Linked DNA regions of Homo sapiens: regions 2, 3, 4 and 5 are each linked to region 1. The links are contacts of gene promoters, found by promoter capture Hi-C in blood cells and fetal thymus (Javierre and others, 2016). All regions are on one chromosome and are shown on one strand. Each heading gives the region's core, a stretch centred on a gene start or on the middle of the fragment in contact. The rest is flanking DNA. Distances are from core to core; before and after follow the strand shown. Region 1 holds the start of BAZ1B (bromodomain adjacent to zinc finger domain 1B). Region 2 holds the start of TYW1B (tRNA-yW synthesizing protein 1 homolog B). Region 3 overlaps EIF4H (eukaryotic translation initiation factor 4H). Region 4 has its middle 8.6 kb from the start of POM121. Region 5 overlaps POM121 (POM121 transmembrane nucleoporin).

The links. The method cuts DNA at HindIII sites, captures the fragments that hold promoters and counts their contacts. A CHiCAGO score of 5 or more calls a contact.
Region 2: a fragment that was not itself captured here is called in contact with the fragment with the promoter of BAZ1B in region 1 in 3 of 17 cell types (total B cells, non-activated CD4 T cells and total CD4 T cells); the score reaches 7.4 in total B cells.
Region 3: a contact is called between a fragment that was not itself captured here and the fragment with the promoter of BAZ1B in region 1, in 5 of 17 cell types (activated CD4 T cells, fetal thymus, non-activated CD4 T cells and 2 more). The highest score is 6.5, in activated CD4 T cells.
Region 4: a contact is called between a fragment that was not itself captured here and the fragment with the promoter of BAZ1B in region 1, in 2 of 17 cell types (neutrophils and naive CD4 T cells). The highest score is 7.5, in neutrophils.
Region 5: a fragment that was not itself captured here is called in contact with the fragment with the promoter of BAZ1B in region 1 in 1 of 17 cell types (total B cells); the score reaches 5.5 in total B cells.

Annotation. Positions count from the first base shown.
Region 1 is chr7:73,520,863-73,523,717 of GRCh38, reverse strand. It overlaps BAZ1B (bromodomain adjacent to zinc finger domain 1B), which reads left to right and starts at 1,425. Exons shown (of 20, transcript NM_032408.4): 1 at 1,425-1,891. The coding sequence starts at 1,785. RefSeq lists silencers at 812-951, 1,302-2,181 and an enhancer at 1,082-1,241. The HindIII fragment of the contact is 2,091 bases long and covers 764-2,854 here.
Region 2 is chr7:72,825,353-72,828,207 of GRCh38, reverse strand. TYW1B (tRNA-yW synthesizing protein 1 homolog B) reads left to right here and starts at 8. Exons shown (of 14, transcript NM_001145440.3): 1 at 8-136; 2 at 1,223-1,353. The coding sequence starts at 133. RefSeq lists an enhancer at 1-38 and a silencer at 1-98. The HindIII fragment of the contact is 1,791 bases long and covers 583-2,373 here.
Region 3 is chr7:74,175,220-74,178,074 of GRCh38, reverse strand. The region is part of intron 1 of EIF4H (eukaryotic translation initiation factor 4H); the gene reads right to left. Among named protein-coding and RNA genes, the nearest start is that of EIF4H, 2.3 kb to the right of the region's middle. RefSeq lists an enhancer at 2,654-2,855. The HindIII fragment of the contact is 2,137 bases long and covers 424-2,560 here.
Region 4 is chr7:72,915,115-72,917,969 of GRCh38, reverse strand. It overlaps a transcript of POM121 not described here. Among named protein-coding and RNA genes, the nearest start is that of POM121, 8.6 kb to the left of the region's middle. The HindIII fragment of the contact is 1,703 bases long and covers 596-2,298 here.
Region 5 is chr7:72,931,515-72,934,369 of GRCh38, reverse strand. All of the region lies in intron 5 of POM121 (POM121 transmembrane nucleoporin), which reads right to left. Among named protein-coding and RNA genes, the nearest start is that of POM121, 7.8 kb to the right of the region's middle. RefSeq lists a silencer at 113-303. The HindIII fragment of the contact is 3,243 bases long and covers 1-2,855 here.

The DNA of each region.
Region 1 (2,855 bases), core at 176-2,675:
GCAACAAAGTAAGACCCTGTCTCTACAAAAAAAATAAAAAATAAAAGGTAGATCCAATTCATTCAAATAGTATTCACTAGCACCTACAATGTTCCGAGCCAGGTGCTGAGTATCATGGGAGAAAAAAAAAAAAAGCCAGAGTCACAGCTCTGGCAGGGCGTGGTGGCTCACGCCTGTAATCCCAACACTTTGGGAGGCCGAGGCGGGTGGATCACCTGAGATCAGGAGTCCGAGACCAGCCTGACCAACATGGTGAAACCCCGTCTCTACAAAATACAAAAAATAGCCGGGTGTGGTGGCGCGCACCTGTAGTCCCAGCTACTCGGGAGGCCGAGGCAAGAGAATAGCTTGAACCCGGGAGGGAGAGGTTGCAGTGAGCCGAGACTGCACCACTGCACTCCAGCCTGGGCAACAAGAGTGAAACTCCGTCTCAAAAAAAAAAATAATGATAATTTTGGGAGGCCTAGGCGGTCGGATCACCTGAAGTCGGGAGTTTGAGACCAGCCTGACCAACATGGAGAAGCCCCGTCTCTACTAATAATACAAAATTGGCCGGGCGTGGTGGTGCACGCCAGTAATTCCAGCTACTTGGGAGGCTGAGGCAGGAGAATCTCTTGAACCCGGGAGGCGGAGGTTGCGGTGAGCCGATATCGCGCCATTGCCCTCCAGCCTGGGCGACAGAGCGAGACTCCGTCTCAAAAAAAACAAAAACCAAAAACCAAAAAACTAAGTACGTCTTTTAATCTATTTCTCCAAAGAAGCTTCTATATTCTACTTTCCAGCCAGCCCCTAGAAACAAGCAGTATACTTCTACCCAGATCTCAACCACACTCCCGCCCAGAAGTTAACTCTGGGGTGAGCAAAGCTGGCCCCCACGTTGTCCTTCCGCAGAACCTTTGGTAGGGTAAGCTCCCGGGGCCACTTCCCGCCAACCCCTCCCTGCAGCCCAGCCCCACCCGCGCATCCCCGGGCGTGGCCGAGCACGGCGCCTTTAAGAAGGGGGAGGCGCCCAAGAGGAAAGACAAAGCCCCTGGCCGCGCGCTCACCCTCCCCCTCCGGCGCACCACACGGACAGTGGTGCCCGGATGTCGGTGTCGCCGTCGGTGACAGATGGCGCAGTATCTGTATATGCGAGGGGCTTCTCCGGCTTGACCTCTTTGAGTTCTCGTCCTCTCCATCCCCCGCTGTCCCCCACTTTTAACTCTGCCGTCGGAGGCCCGCACGCCTATCACGGGCGCTTACATAACGTGACCTTTCACCTCTTCAGACTGCCCTCTAGTGCGCTGCAACCCAACTACGCGACAGGGGCAGGGGGGCGGGACCCAGGCGCGGAGCGGCAGCTCCTCCGAGCCAATAGGCTGTGAGCGCTGACCAGCTCTCCGCCTATTGGAGCATTCGCCACCGGCGCCACGGGGGAGCAAGTTAGTGTGTGCGTTGGCCGGGCCCGGGGGAGGAGGGGAATCTCCCGCCATTTTTCAATAATTTCCTCCGGTGCTGCTGAGGAGGAGTCGTGACTGCCGGCCGCCGGGACCCGAAGCGGAGGTCGGCGGGGGGCTGCTGGGAGGCGCGGCGGTGTGCGCGGGAGCTCTGCGCCGTGGCGTTCCGCTCCATGACTGTCGCGCGGCCGCGCCGGCGGTGAGGGAGCCGGAGTTCGCGCCGCCCTCTCACCCCTCCCTTCCCCCACCCCACCCCCGGGCGCCTGGCGCTCGCTCCGGGCCGCGGGGCCTAGTGCTGCGCCGCGGGGCCGGCCCCAGCAGCCGCCAGTCCCCACCGCCGCCGCCGCGATGGCGCCGCTCCTGGGCCGCAAGCCCTTCCCGCTGGTGAAGCCGTTGCCCGGAGAGGAGCCGCTCTTCACCATCCCGCACACTCAGGAGGCCTTCCGCACCCGGGAGTATCCTTTTCCAGCCGCGCGGGCCGGGCTGGGCCGGGCTGGGCCGGGGTAGGGCCTGGGGCTCGCGAGACCAGGTCAGCCGCGCATCCCCGGCCCGGGGCAGCTGTCAGCGCGCCCCGGCCGCTCGCGGGCCTGGAGGCTGAGTCTCAGCCTGCGCCCGCCGATCCTTCCAGGGGATCCGGCGGGGGGCGCGCACCGGCCCTGGAAGGAGAAGGGCCCGCTTCGGCCGCCCCCGGGGCCCCGCACTTTGTCCCGGGGCCTCGCCGGCGAGGAGCGCATCCCCCATCCCCATTACCTTCCCCGGGTTGGCTTTAGGCCTTGAGGACCCGAGAGGGAGGAGGAGGCGTGGGGAGGGGGAGCTAGGTTTTCTCCTTTAATTTTTACAAAAATTTTTTAAAAATTTAAATGAAACCTGCAGCTTAAGTTTTGAAATTGTACTCGCGCGGCCTCGTGATGCGGCGTGTGCAAGACTCAACTGCGTCTTACCCCGATCTCTGCGGGGATACTTGGCGTTTTTTTCGTCTCCCGAGGGGACTTTAGGCCGGGGATGAACTGACAGGACCCTGGGGCAGAAAACTAGGAATGAGATTCCCCGCTTAGAGGAAAGGGAGGGAAGGAAACTGCCTGTGGAGGAGCTGATGCCTGCCTTCCCTGGGCAGACACAGGTTTGAAATTTTGAAGGTTTAGAAGGAGATTGGTATTTGTTAAAATTAAACAAACAAAAAAACCAAGACGTGAAGTTTTTATGTTGTATTTTAGGAACATGAAATTGGATGTTTTACAAAGGAAGCATCCTCTCGTCATGACTAAGATTTCTTGCATAAGCATTATCTTTTAGTGAAAAGTTGTGCAGCTTTTATTTGCTTTTTTTTAATGGGTGCCAGAAGAATCGTTTTTGAGGCTTATCTGTAAAAAAAACAAAAACGATTTCGGAATCAAGCATTTCTTTGGTGACTGAAAGCTT
Region 2 (2,855 bases), core at 229-2,728, 700 kb after region 1:
GCTGCCCACAGTTCTGCAGCCACTCGGTACGGCGCTAACGCCGCGAGGTAGCTCGGTGCGTCTCGCAGTACCAGTGCGAACCTTTGGGCTCTCCAGGTCCGAGATCCTAGTCTCCTGTCGGCTCTGAGGAGGATGGGTAAGGGCACTCGGCGGGCAAGGACCCTGGGGCGGCAGGGGAGGTAAACGTTTTACTGAGACCCTCTCCGGGCGGAGTGGCGTCCTCGGTCCCCTTCCTTCGGAGACTGTTGCACTTGACAGCACCGGCTAGCCGCCGCTGAGAGCAAGGAGGACCGATCCCTACTTTTGACCTGGCTTTTGCCTTTTGAGGCTAGGGGGTTAGACAGAAAACTACCCCTCCCACTTTACCCACGTGTATTAGGACTTTTGCACCTGTAAAGCCTAAATTTCAGGCTTCGACTTTTGAAATTGCTGCCAGGTTGAACGTTTGAAGCCAGGTCCTTCCATATCTCTCTTAAAAAAAAAAATGAGACGTAAGGTCAGTTACTTGAGAATCTTTTACAAGTTTAACCGTGAGCCTTTGAAAGTACAGTTAGTAAAAAGAATACTTTTACTACTTAAGCTTTTTTTATGGAGCAAGCACAACAAAACAATTAACTTAATTTCACATGAAGTATTTTTACTTTATGTTCCTTCTCTTGCTTCTAAATGCTCATTTCGAAGTGAAGATACAGTTTTATATTCTGTTTTTTCTTTGAGTTAGTGTTAACAGTATGATAATTTTATTACGTTACTACATAGTGTGTTATTTTTATTACAGTTGATTCCCCCGCCCCCCCCACGAGATGGAGCCTTGCTCTGTCGCCCAGGCTGGAGTGCGGTGGCGCAATCTTGGCTCACTGCAACCTCTGCCTCCCAGGTGCAAGCAGTTCTCCTGCCTCAGCCTCCCGAGTAGCTGGGATTACAGGCGCGCGCCACCATGCCCGGCTAATTTTTGTATTTTTAGTAGAGGCGGGGTTTCACCATGTTGGCCAGGCTGGTCTCGAACTCCTGACCTCAGGTGATCTGCCCGCCTCAGCCACCCAAAGTGCTGGGATTACAGGCATGAGCCACTGTGCCCGGCCAACAGTTGATTTTTAAATTAGATTTCTTAGCTGGGTTGTTGAATGTAAGGTTGGTTTTATTTTCTTCTTAAAATCGGGAAGGATATCTTTGTATATGTAGCTTTAAATGAAATTATCTGTGTGTGTCATTTTAAATTTAGATCCTTCTGCGGATACATGGGACCTCTCCTCACCTTTAATATCATTATGGATAAACAGGTTTTACATTTATCTGGGCTTTGCTGTTAGCATTAGCCTTTGGATTTGTGTCCAGATTGTCATCGAGATGCAGGTAAGTGGAGTTATTTTTTTTAATAGAGTATTTAGGCATCAGATTTTATAGAGGATTTAAACACTAAAAGGAACCTTTAATTACTTTTGTGTTTGGTCTTTAGACATTTTAATGAAATGCCTAAAATAAATTTCTTCTCTAAGTTTTTGGAGACTAAGTTATCTTGGATTAAGTTACTTACTTTTTCTTTGATAGGTGTGTCTCATTTTTAAGATACAGGAAGATTTTTGTAATGAAAAGTGAACCTTTTATATGAAAAACAAATTTGTTTTATACCTTTAAGGGTCAGTAGTCCTCTCTTTCCATTAATTAAGGATCAGAAAATAAGTTCCTACTATTATTCTACTAAAATACCTTATAGGATAAAAGTATGTAAAGTTTTTTCTTGGAGGGAATGGAAATCATGAGCCTTAAAAATGTGGGTCCTGCCTATTAAAGGACCTTATTATACCAAGGGGCTAATATTTGAGGAATACAACCAGAAAGATTTAAGAGAAAAATACAGGTGTGTCAGATTAAGAGAAAAATAAAGTGTGTCAGTATCTGTGCTACCTTTCATCCCTGCTGAAGTTGGGAAACGATTTAGGCTTGATGGATTTTGTGTAATTATTTGTCTTCAAGGGCAGGAACTTACAGGAAAAATCTGTTCCAAAAGCAGCTCAGGATTTGATGACAAATGGTTATGTCTCCCTTCGAGAGAAAGACATCTTTGTGTCTGGAGTGAAGATTTTTTATGGTTCTCAGACTGGAACAGCAAAGTTAAGAAGTTTATATGATGCTTTTCCTTTGGTTTCCTGACATTTTAAGAAAATCCCTTTAGCAGTGAACTTTAGCAGTGAACTGTCCTTTAGCAGTGAACTGAATTGGTCATCTAACCTTCTTTATTCTTTCTCCCAGCCTTTTCCCCTCAAATATTTTTCCTTTCTGCGATGGTAGGCGGGTTTCATCTCCTGTGCCCAGTTAGAGCTGACTGGTGGTGTCTGATGGTCACTGTCTTGAGGGGGCCTTTGTTCTGAAGCTTGCTTCTGCCTCAGCAGGCTAGAGAAAGTTGTGAGTCCATTATCGATGCCCATGGGTATGGAAGTAGGGAATAGGGAAAAAAGGATGGCACCAATAGTTCCAATATGGGCCTGACTTTCACATCACACATCTATGTTTATTTTTTATTTTGTTTTTTGAGACAGAGTCTCACTCTGTCACCCAGGCTGGAGTGCAGTGGCACGATCTCGGCTCACTGCAACCTCCACCTCCACCTCAAGCAATTCTCCTGCCTCAGCCTCCCGAGTAGCTGGGATTATAGGTGCCTGCTACCACGCTCTGGCTAATCTTTGTATTTTTAGTAGAGATGGGGTTTTGCCACGTTGGCTGGGCTGCTCTCAAACTCCTGGGCTCAGGTGATGCGCCTGCCTCGGCCTCCCAAAGTGCTGGGATTACAGGCGTGAGCCACTGCACCTGGCCTCACGTCACACATCTATGTAATGAAACTTGTTTTGATTTCTAAT
Region 3 (2,855 bases), core at 243-2,742, 650 kb before region 1:
CAGCTACTTGGGAGGCTGAGGTGGGAGGATGGCTTGAGCCTGGGAAGTCGAGGCTGCACTGAGCTATGATCCTGCCACTGCACTCCAGCCTGGGTGACAGAAGGAGAGCCTATTTCATAAATAAATACATGTTTCTAACTCATATGTGGGGAAAACGAGGCTCAGAGAGGTGAAGAAACTTACTTCAGATCACACAACTAACACATGGCTGAACTGATGAAACTCTGGTCTGCCTTATTCCAAAGCCAGGGCTTTTACATGAACCGTCATGCAGAGACCTCTTAGCAAATCCAAATATTTCTGGTAACACTTTTCATAGAGGATAATGGTTTGGAACTAAGCAATGGAACACTTGGAGTGAAGAAGGATAACAAACCTAAACGACTTGACATTTGACATGTAAACAGCATTTTAAAATAAGCTTTTCAATAGCTTTACAGGCCCTAGCATCAGTGAAAACTAGCTGTAGTTTTTATACACTGCTTTCCTTCCTATTACATACAAATCTTAAAATATGCTCAGAGACAGGAAGTAGAATGGTGGTTGCCAGGGACCTGGGGGAAGGAGGGCAATAGGGAATTACTATTCAAAGGGGACAGGGTTTTAGTTTTACAAGCTGTAAGAGTTAAGGAGCTGGATAGTGGTGATGGTTATACATTACGAATACACTCAATATCCCTGAAATGTATACTGAAAAATGGGTAAAGTGGCACATTTTATGTTATGTATATTTTACCACCATAAAAATTTTGGATAAAAATATGCTCAGAAATTTAGACAGACATGCTAAGTTTAAAGATTCAAAGGTTAGAATTCTAAACTCCTAGGCTGGGCGTGGTAGCTCATGCCTGTAATCCCAACACTTTGGGAGGCTGAGGCGGGAGGATCACTTGAGTCCAAGAGTTCAAGACCAGCCTGGGCAACATAGTGAAACCCATCTCTATTTAAAAAAGAATTCTAAACTCCCTAACTGAATCCTGATAAAGAATAAATTTGGAGTTTTGCCAGTTTTTAGATGGCACCATTTCAGCCACCTCAATTCTTGCCACCTCCAATTTCCACCCTAATTCTCAGGATCGGTGGTTTTCCACTAAGCACTCATAGCTTTGTTGCAATTAGAAATATAAAATCAGTATTACTCTGCACTTTACTGCCAATGGTAGATGAGAAACTGGAACCTCAAAAAGATAATTTAGCAAACTGCAAAACAAAGTCCATTCAAGATCTGGTACAATCAACTCTTGATCATTTGGAATTTTGTTTTGATTTGCTTGCTGAACAATGCAGTCCCTGGTTCTCTCCCTGGCTGCTGGGGACATGCCCTTACAGGCTCGGGGGAAAAAAGCAGTGGTTCAATACTGTTTCCTGACAACTGCACTGGTTATTAAACACAACTACGAAATAAACTTAGGAAGATGTATAACTACCAAACTATGTTTTATGATGATAACTGTTCATTTTAGGCCTACCATTTCTTTCACCTGTGACCCAAGTAATTCAGAGGTGAGATGTACGAGCCTGTCTGAGGCATTTTAGACAAGGGAGAAGGTGCCTACACAAGTACCAAACAATGCAGTGTTAAAACTGCTTTCCATAGGTGGCAATCTTCTATGATGCTTAAGCATTGTAAAGCAGTGACATTTGTTCATGTGGACATAATTAAAATAATTGAGGCCGGGCGCGGTGGCTAATGCCTGTAATCCCAGCACTTTGGGAGGCTGAGGCAGGAGAATCGCTTAAACCCGGGAGGTGGAGGTTGCAGTGAGCCGAGATCACACCATTGCACTCCAGCTTGGGCAACAAGAGTGAAACTCCATCTCAAAAAAAAAAAAAAAGAATACACATGTATAAATGAATATGTAAATTCACCAACAAGTTTTTAAAACTACTTCTGAAAGTAGCAATACTTTATGTAGTTTCACATTAATATGAAGCCAAATAGAAAATTCCAAGTAAGTGAGACATAGAAGATGCTTAACAGTAAAGAGACTTTCTATTAGGAAGTTCAAGTGATGCACAGTGCTACCTAGGAAACTCTCCTATCAGTTTTTGGAGTACACCTGGGGCAAATGGCTAATATTTTCATCTGCTGTGGAGATTTGAAATTAATAGCATCTTAATAGAATTTTACTTCTGATTGTTCCTGGCACCCCCAAATGTCAAAATTTGACACCAGAAGAGCTGGCAAATGTGTCTGAAGGAAATTTTTTTAAATCCCCACACTCAGTTTAATAAGGTCACCTTATTGTAGTCCCAATGCAACTAAAACTTAAATTGACCACGCTGTTTAAGAAGAATTTTTCTGGGTACTTCTGTGAACGTTTTTTGGAACTAGGAAAAAAAAAAAAACCCTAGTTATTAAATTTCGAAATGACTTGAGAACAAATTTGATGTTTAGAAACCTAACCCAAAGGCGATAATTTCATGTCATCCAACATTTACTTCTTTTTTTATTAGCAAATAAAATGTTCTTTGGAATGACAATAGCTCCACCTACACCGGCACACTTCCACGTTACAGTATCATGAACATTAGCTACACTCCTGCCCCGAAACAAGCTTTTGTCTGAGCCGTTCCCAAACCAAGGTATTAAAAGTGATCATTCTTTACCAAACAAAGATACTTTTGGACTGCAACCCAGGAGACTGAACACCTCAGTGTGTATTATTGTGGTGTTATCCTGGGAAAGTAATCCTTTCTGCAAGAAAACACAAAGCCCAAGTGTGTCCTTGACAAACAGCAAGATGTTCATAGCCTATATTCTAACGAGGCAACTTGTATTTAAAAAATAAAATAAAAAAAAGTGCAGAGTCCTGGAATTAAACACCATGAGCTCTCTATTCAAAGATGTTTCT
Region 4 (2,855 bases), core at 198-2,697, 610 kb after region 1:
CTCGGCTGCCAGGCAGGGAAGGGCCCCCTGTCCAGTGGACATGTGACCCACGTGACCTTACCTATCATTGGAGATGACTCACTCTTTACCCTGCCCCTTTTGCTTTGTATCCAATAAATAACAGCGCAGCCAGACATTCAGGGCCACTACCGGTCTCTGCGCATTGGTGGTAGTGGTCCCCCGGGCCCAGCTGTCTTTTCTTTTATCTCTTTGTCTTGTGTCTTTCTTTCTACACTCTCTCATCGCTGCACACAGGGAGAAGCCCACCGACCCTGTGGGGCTGGTCCCTGCAGCTGGCACCTTGATCTTTGACTTCTGGCCTCTAGAACTGTGAGAAAATAACTTCCAGCTGTTGAAACCACATGGTCTGTGGCATTTCGTGATGGTAGCCCTAGCAAACTAATACAGACTTCCTAAATCCGAGAAGGAAAGCTGGGGAGAATTCCTCTGGGAAAGCAGAAAAGCTGGGGAGAATTCCTCTGGGAAAGCAGAAAAGCTGGGGAGAATTCCTCTGGGAAAGCAGGGCAGTCACAAGCACTCAGGTGTTACACGGGCTTTGTCCAGGGCAGGATGCTCGCTCAGAAAGACCTAAGCTTTCACCTTGGCCTGATTACGAGGGTCAGTGCAGGCCCAGCTAAGTGCTGAAGAAAAGCTGTGGTGCAAAGGCAAACTTCAAAGACTGGGAGAGGTGTTTTCTTCCATTTTTAGCTCCTAGTATTCAAGGAAATCTCTATCAAAATGTGAGCTGAACACAAGCTAAAAGAATCAGAGACTTCAGTGACCACACATGAAAATGATAAATCTTTGCAAAAATAGTTTGGAAGTCACTAAATGTATGTACTACTACAGCCTTCAATGATTAAAAACACACTCACTCACAGACACATAGCAAACAATGAGAAGTATCATCTAAATGCCAGAGTTACTACCTTGCAATATTCAAATGTCCATGTTTCAATGACAGTCACAAATCATGCCAAGACAAAGGAACGTATCCAAAATAACAAAATAAATTGATGGAAATCAGCCCTTAGGAAGCCCAGACGTTGGACTTAGCAGACAAAAACTTTTTAAAAACTCTCATAAATCATGAAGTACCTCTTCAAGGAGAACTACAAACCACTGCTCAAGGAAATAAGAGAGTACACAAACAAATGGAAACACATTCCATGCTCATAGATAGGAAGAATCAATATTGTGAAAATGGCTATACTACCCAAAATAATTTACAGAGTCAATGCTATTTCCAACAAGCTACCACTGACTTTCTTCACAGAACTAGAAAAACTACTTTAAATTTCATATGGAACCAAAAACGAGCCTGTATAGCCAAGACAATACTAAGCAAAAAGAACAAAGCTGTAGGCATCACGCTACCTGACTTCAAACTATACTACAAGGCTACAGTAACCAAAACAGCATGGTACTGGTACCAAAACAGATACATAGACCAATGGAACAGAATAGAGACCTCAGAAATAACACCACACATCTACAACCATCTGATCTTCGACAAACCTGACAAAAACAAGCAATGGGGTAAGGATTCTCTATTTAATGGTGCTGGGAAGACTGGCTAGCCATATACAGAAAGCTGAAACTGGACCCTGTCCTTACACCTTATAAAAAACTAACTCAAGATGGATTAAAGACTTAAATGTAAAATCCAAAACCATAAAAATCCTAGAAGAAAACCTAGGCAATACCATTCAGGACATAGGCATGGGCAAAGACTTCATGACTAAAACACCAAAAGCAATTGCAACAAAAGCCAAAATTGACAAATGGGATCTAACTAAACTAAAGAGCTTCTGTATAGCAAAAGAAACTAGCATCAGAGTGAACAGGCAACCTACAGAACGGGAGAAAATTTTTGCAACCTACCCATCTGACAAAGGTCAGGTCCAGATCTTGTAGATTCTTGTAGATCCAGAAACTACAAGGAACTTAAACAAATTTACAAGGAAAAAACAAACAACCCCATCAAAAAGTGGGCAAAGGGCCAGGCACGGTGGCTCACGCCTGTAATCCCAACACTTTGGGAGGCCAAGGTGGGTGGATCACCTGAGCTCAGGAGTTCAAGACTAAAAATACAAAAATTACTAAATTACTCTACTAAAAACACAAAAATTAGCCTGGCATGGTGGTGGGCGCCTATAATCTCAGCTACTTGGGAGGCTGAGGCAGGAGAATCTCTTGAACCCAGGAGGCGGAGGTTGCAGTGAGCCTGGATCACGCCACTGCACTCCAGCCTGGGCAACACAGTGAGACTCTGTCTCAAAACACAAACAAAAAGCTTGGGCGCAGTGGCTCATACTTGTAATCCCAGTGCTTTGGGAGGCCAAAGCAAGTGGATCACCTGAGGTCAGGAGTTCAAGACCAGCCTGGCCAACATGGGGAAACCCTGTCTCTATTAAAAATACAAAAAATTTAGCCGGGTGTAGTAGTGCACACCTGTAATCCCAGCTACTAGGGAGGATGAGGCAGAAGAATTGCTTGAACCTGGGAGGTGCGAGGCGGAGGAGGAGCCGAGATCGTGCCACTGTACTCCAGCCTAGGTGAGTGAGACTCGTCTCAAAAACAAACAAAAAGCAGTGCATGTTGGCTAGTTTGTTAATCAATATTAGTTAGTTATTAGCTCTGAATAGATGCCAGGTAATATGCTAGGCACTGATGACATACTCATGACGCAGAGCTGGTCCCAATGCTAGAATGATCTTTGTTCCTGAGATCCAGGTTGCTGCTGCCACTAGAGGGCAGCCGAAGCTCATCTGTAATGGCACAGTAATGGTTAACCCCAACAATCTAACATTACCAGGGAAGAACTGTCCTGAAGGGCAAAGTACCAAGCTACC
Region 5 (2,855 bases), core at 150-2,649, 590 kb after region 1:
CTCACGCCTGTAATCCCAGCACTTCGGGAGGCCAAGGCGGACGGATCACCTGAGGTCACGAGTTCGAGACCATCCTAGCCAACATGGTGAAAACCCATCTCTACTAAAAATACAAAAATTAGCCGGGCATGGTGGTGGGTGCCTGTAATCCCAGCTACTTGGGAGGCTGAGACTGGGGAATTGCTTGAACCCAGGAGGTGGAGGTTGCAGTGAGCCAAGGTCACAGCACTGCACTCCAGCCCGGGCGACAGTGCGAGACTCTGTCTCAAAAGAAAGAAAAAAAAAAAGACTGTACAGTAAAAAGTAAATTTCCTTTTTATCTCAGTAATGATTGCCAGTTTTTAATATATCCTGTAAGAATTATTTTATGCATATTAAAAGATTTTTAAAAGCCCGAATAATAGAGGATACTATACAGTTCTGAGCCTTGTTTTTATGTAATTGCTTTTTGAGATCATTCTCATGAGTACTTCTTCAGTTGCCTTATTCTTTTTCATAGTTACATAGTATATTCCAACTTACACCAATACTGTAAGTTATTCAGTCAGCTCCCTGAAAAGATAACATGTACATTGTTTCCAAGCTGCTATTATTAAAACAATGTTACATTAAATCCTTGTATCCATTTCCCAGTATGTGTGTAGGATAACTTCCTAAAGGTAAAGCTGCTTGATCAAAGGGTGCATGTATCTCTTATGTGGACAATTCCTGTCACAAAGCCCTCTAGAGAGCTGTACCAACTGACACTCCCACCAGCAACGCGTGAGGAGCCTGTTTCTTCTAACACTGCACTTCTATGGTTTCTATTTTACGTTCAAAACTTTGCTTCATTTGGAATAGGTTTCTCTACTATAGGAAAAACTCTTGAACATGAGATTTGGCTGGTAGCCCTTCAGAAAAATGGGTAAAGGATATGAACTAAGACTCATGGAAACAGAACTGAAAATAATCATTCAACATATGAACAGATGATCAAACTACTCATAAGAGACAAAAATTAGATACCTTTTTTTCTTTGAGACAGAATCTCACTCTGTCGTCCAGGCTGGAGGGCAGTGGCGTGAGCTCGGCTCACTTGACCTCTGCCTTTCAGGGTCAAGCAGTTCTCCTGCCTCAGCCTCCCAAGTAACTGGGATTACAGGCACACACGACCACGCCTGGCTAAATTTTTTGTATTTTTAGTAGCAACCGGTTTTTGCCACGTTGGCCAGGCTGGTCTCAAACTCCGGATTTCAGGTGATCCACCTGCCTCAGCCTCCCAAAGTGCTGGGATTACAGGTGTAAGCCACCAAGCTCGGCTGGCTTTTTTTTTTTTTTTGAGACAGAGTCTCACTCTGTCGCCCAGGCTGGAGTGGAGTGGCGCTATCTCTGCTCACTGCAACCCCTGCCTCCCAGGTTCCTGATATTCTCCTTCCTCAGCCTCCTGAGTAGCTGGGATTACAGGCATGTGCCACCATGCCCAGCTAATTTTTATGTTTTTAGTAGAGACAGGATTTCACCATGTTGGCTAGGATGATCTCGAACTCCTGACCTCCAGTGATCTGCCTTCCTCGGCCTCTCAAAGTGCTGGGATTACAGGCATGAGCTGCCACGCCTGTCTTAGATACTATTTTTAACCTGTGAAATTGGTAAAAGCCCAGAGCTACAATAACCAAATCTGCTGGTGAGGCCATGGAGAAATGGTCCCTCTCATACAACGCTGAGGGGAATGCTGAGTGGTGCATGCTCTGTAGGGGGATTTAACAATATCCAGCAAAATTACATGCGCATTTAACCTTTGACCTGGGAATCTGACTTCTAGGAACTTTCCAGAGGCAAAATTGCCAAGGATGAAATGACATATGAACAAATGTATTCTTTGCAGCATTATTTGTGATAGCAGAAGACTGAAACAACCCAACATTTGTCAACAGAGGACTAAAGTACCTATGCAGTTTTAAGACCAAAGATGAGTTTCTGTGTACTGCTATGGAATGACCTCAACTATCTATTATGTGAAAAAGCAAGGTTCAAATCTGTATATACTGTCTACTACCTTAAATGTTAGAAGGTGGCGGTTTTCAGATACACTGATATGCATACCGTTTAAAAAACAATAAAGGATAATCAAAAAATAAAAATGGAGAGGAAGGAAAAATGTAGAGTGGAAAGGGATGGAAACTGAATTTTTGAGTGTATCTTGTTTTAGTGTATTTTTTTTGAAACAACTTATTGTTTCAAAGATTTTACATAATTTAAAACAGAACTATTTCAAAAAGGAAAACACAGAAATCCCTGTAACTTTCAAACATACTGAACAAACGAACCTCACTGTATATAAAGTTGGTGTACCCAAAGGACAATTAACATTACTTTAAAACACGATATATTGATTACATGTCCGTAGCATTCACACAGGGATATAAAGACAAATGAATCACAATTCTTAAACTGACTTCAGCCGTCTTAATAATGACAGTGTTAACAATGACACTGATACCGCTATTTTGAAATTGCATGGGCCAGGCGTGGTGGCTCATGCCTGTAATCCCAGCACTTTGGGAGGCCAAGGTGGGTGGATCACCTGAGGTCACGAGTTCGATGCCAGCCTGGCCAACATGGTGAAATCTCGTCTCTACTAAAAATACAAAAATTAGCTGGGCATGGTGGCGGGCACCTATAGTCTCAACTACTTGGGAGGCTGAGGCAGGAGAATCGCTTGAACTCAGGAAGCGGAGATTGCAGTGAGTCAAGGTCGCACCACTGTGCTCCAGCCTGGGCGACAAGAGTAAGACTCCGGCAAAAAAAAAAAAAAAGAAATTGCGTGTTACTAGGATCAAAGTAATTATAAACCGACATTTTTGGTGTAATACATA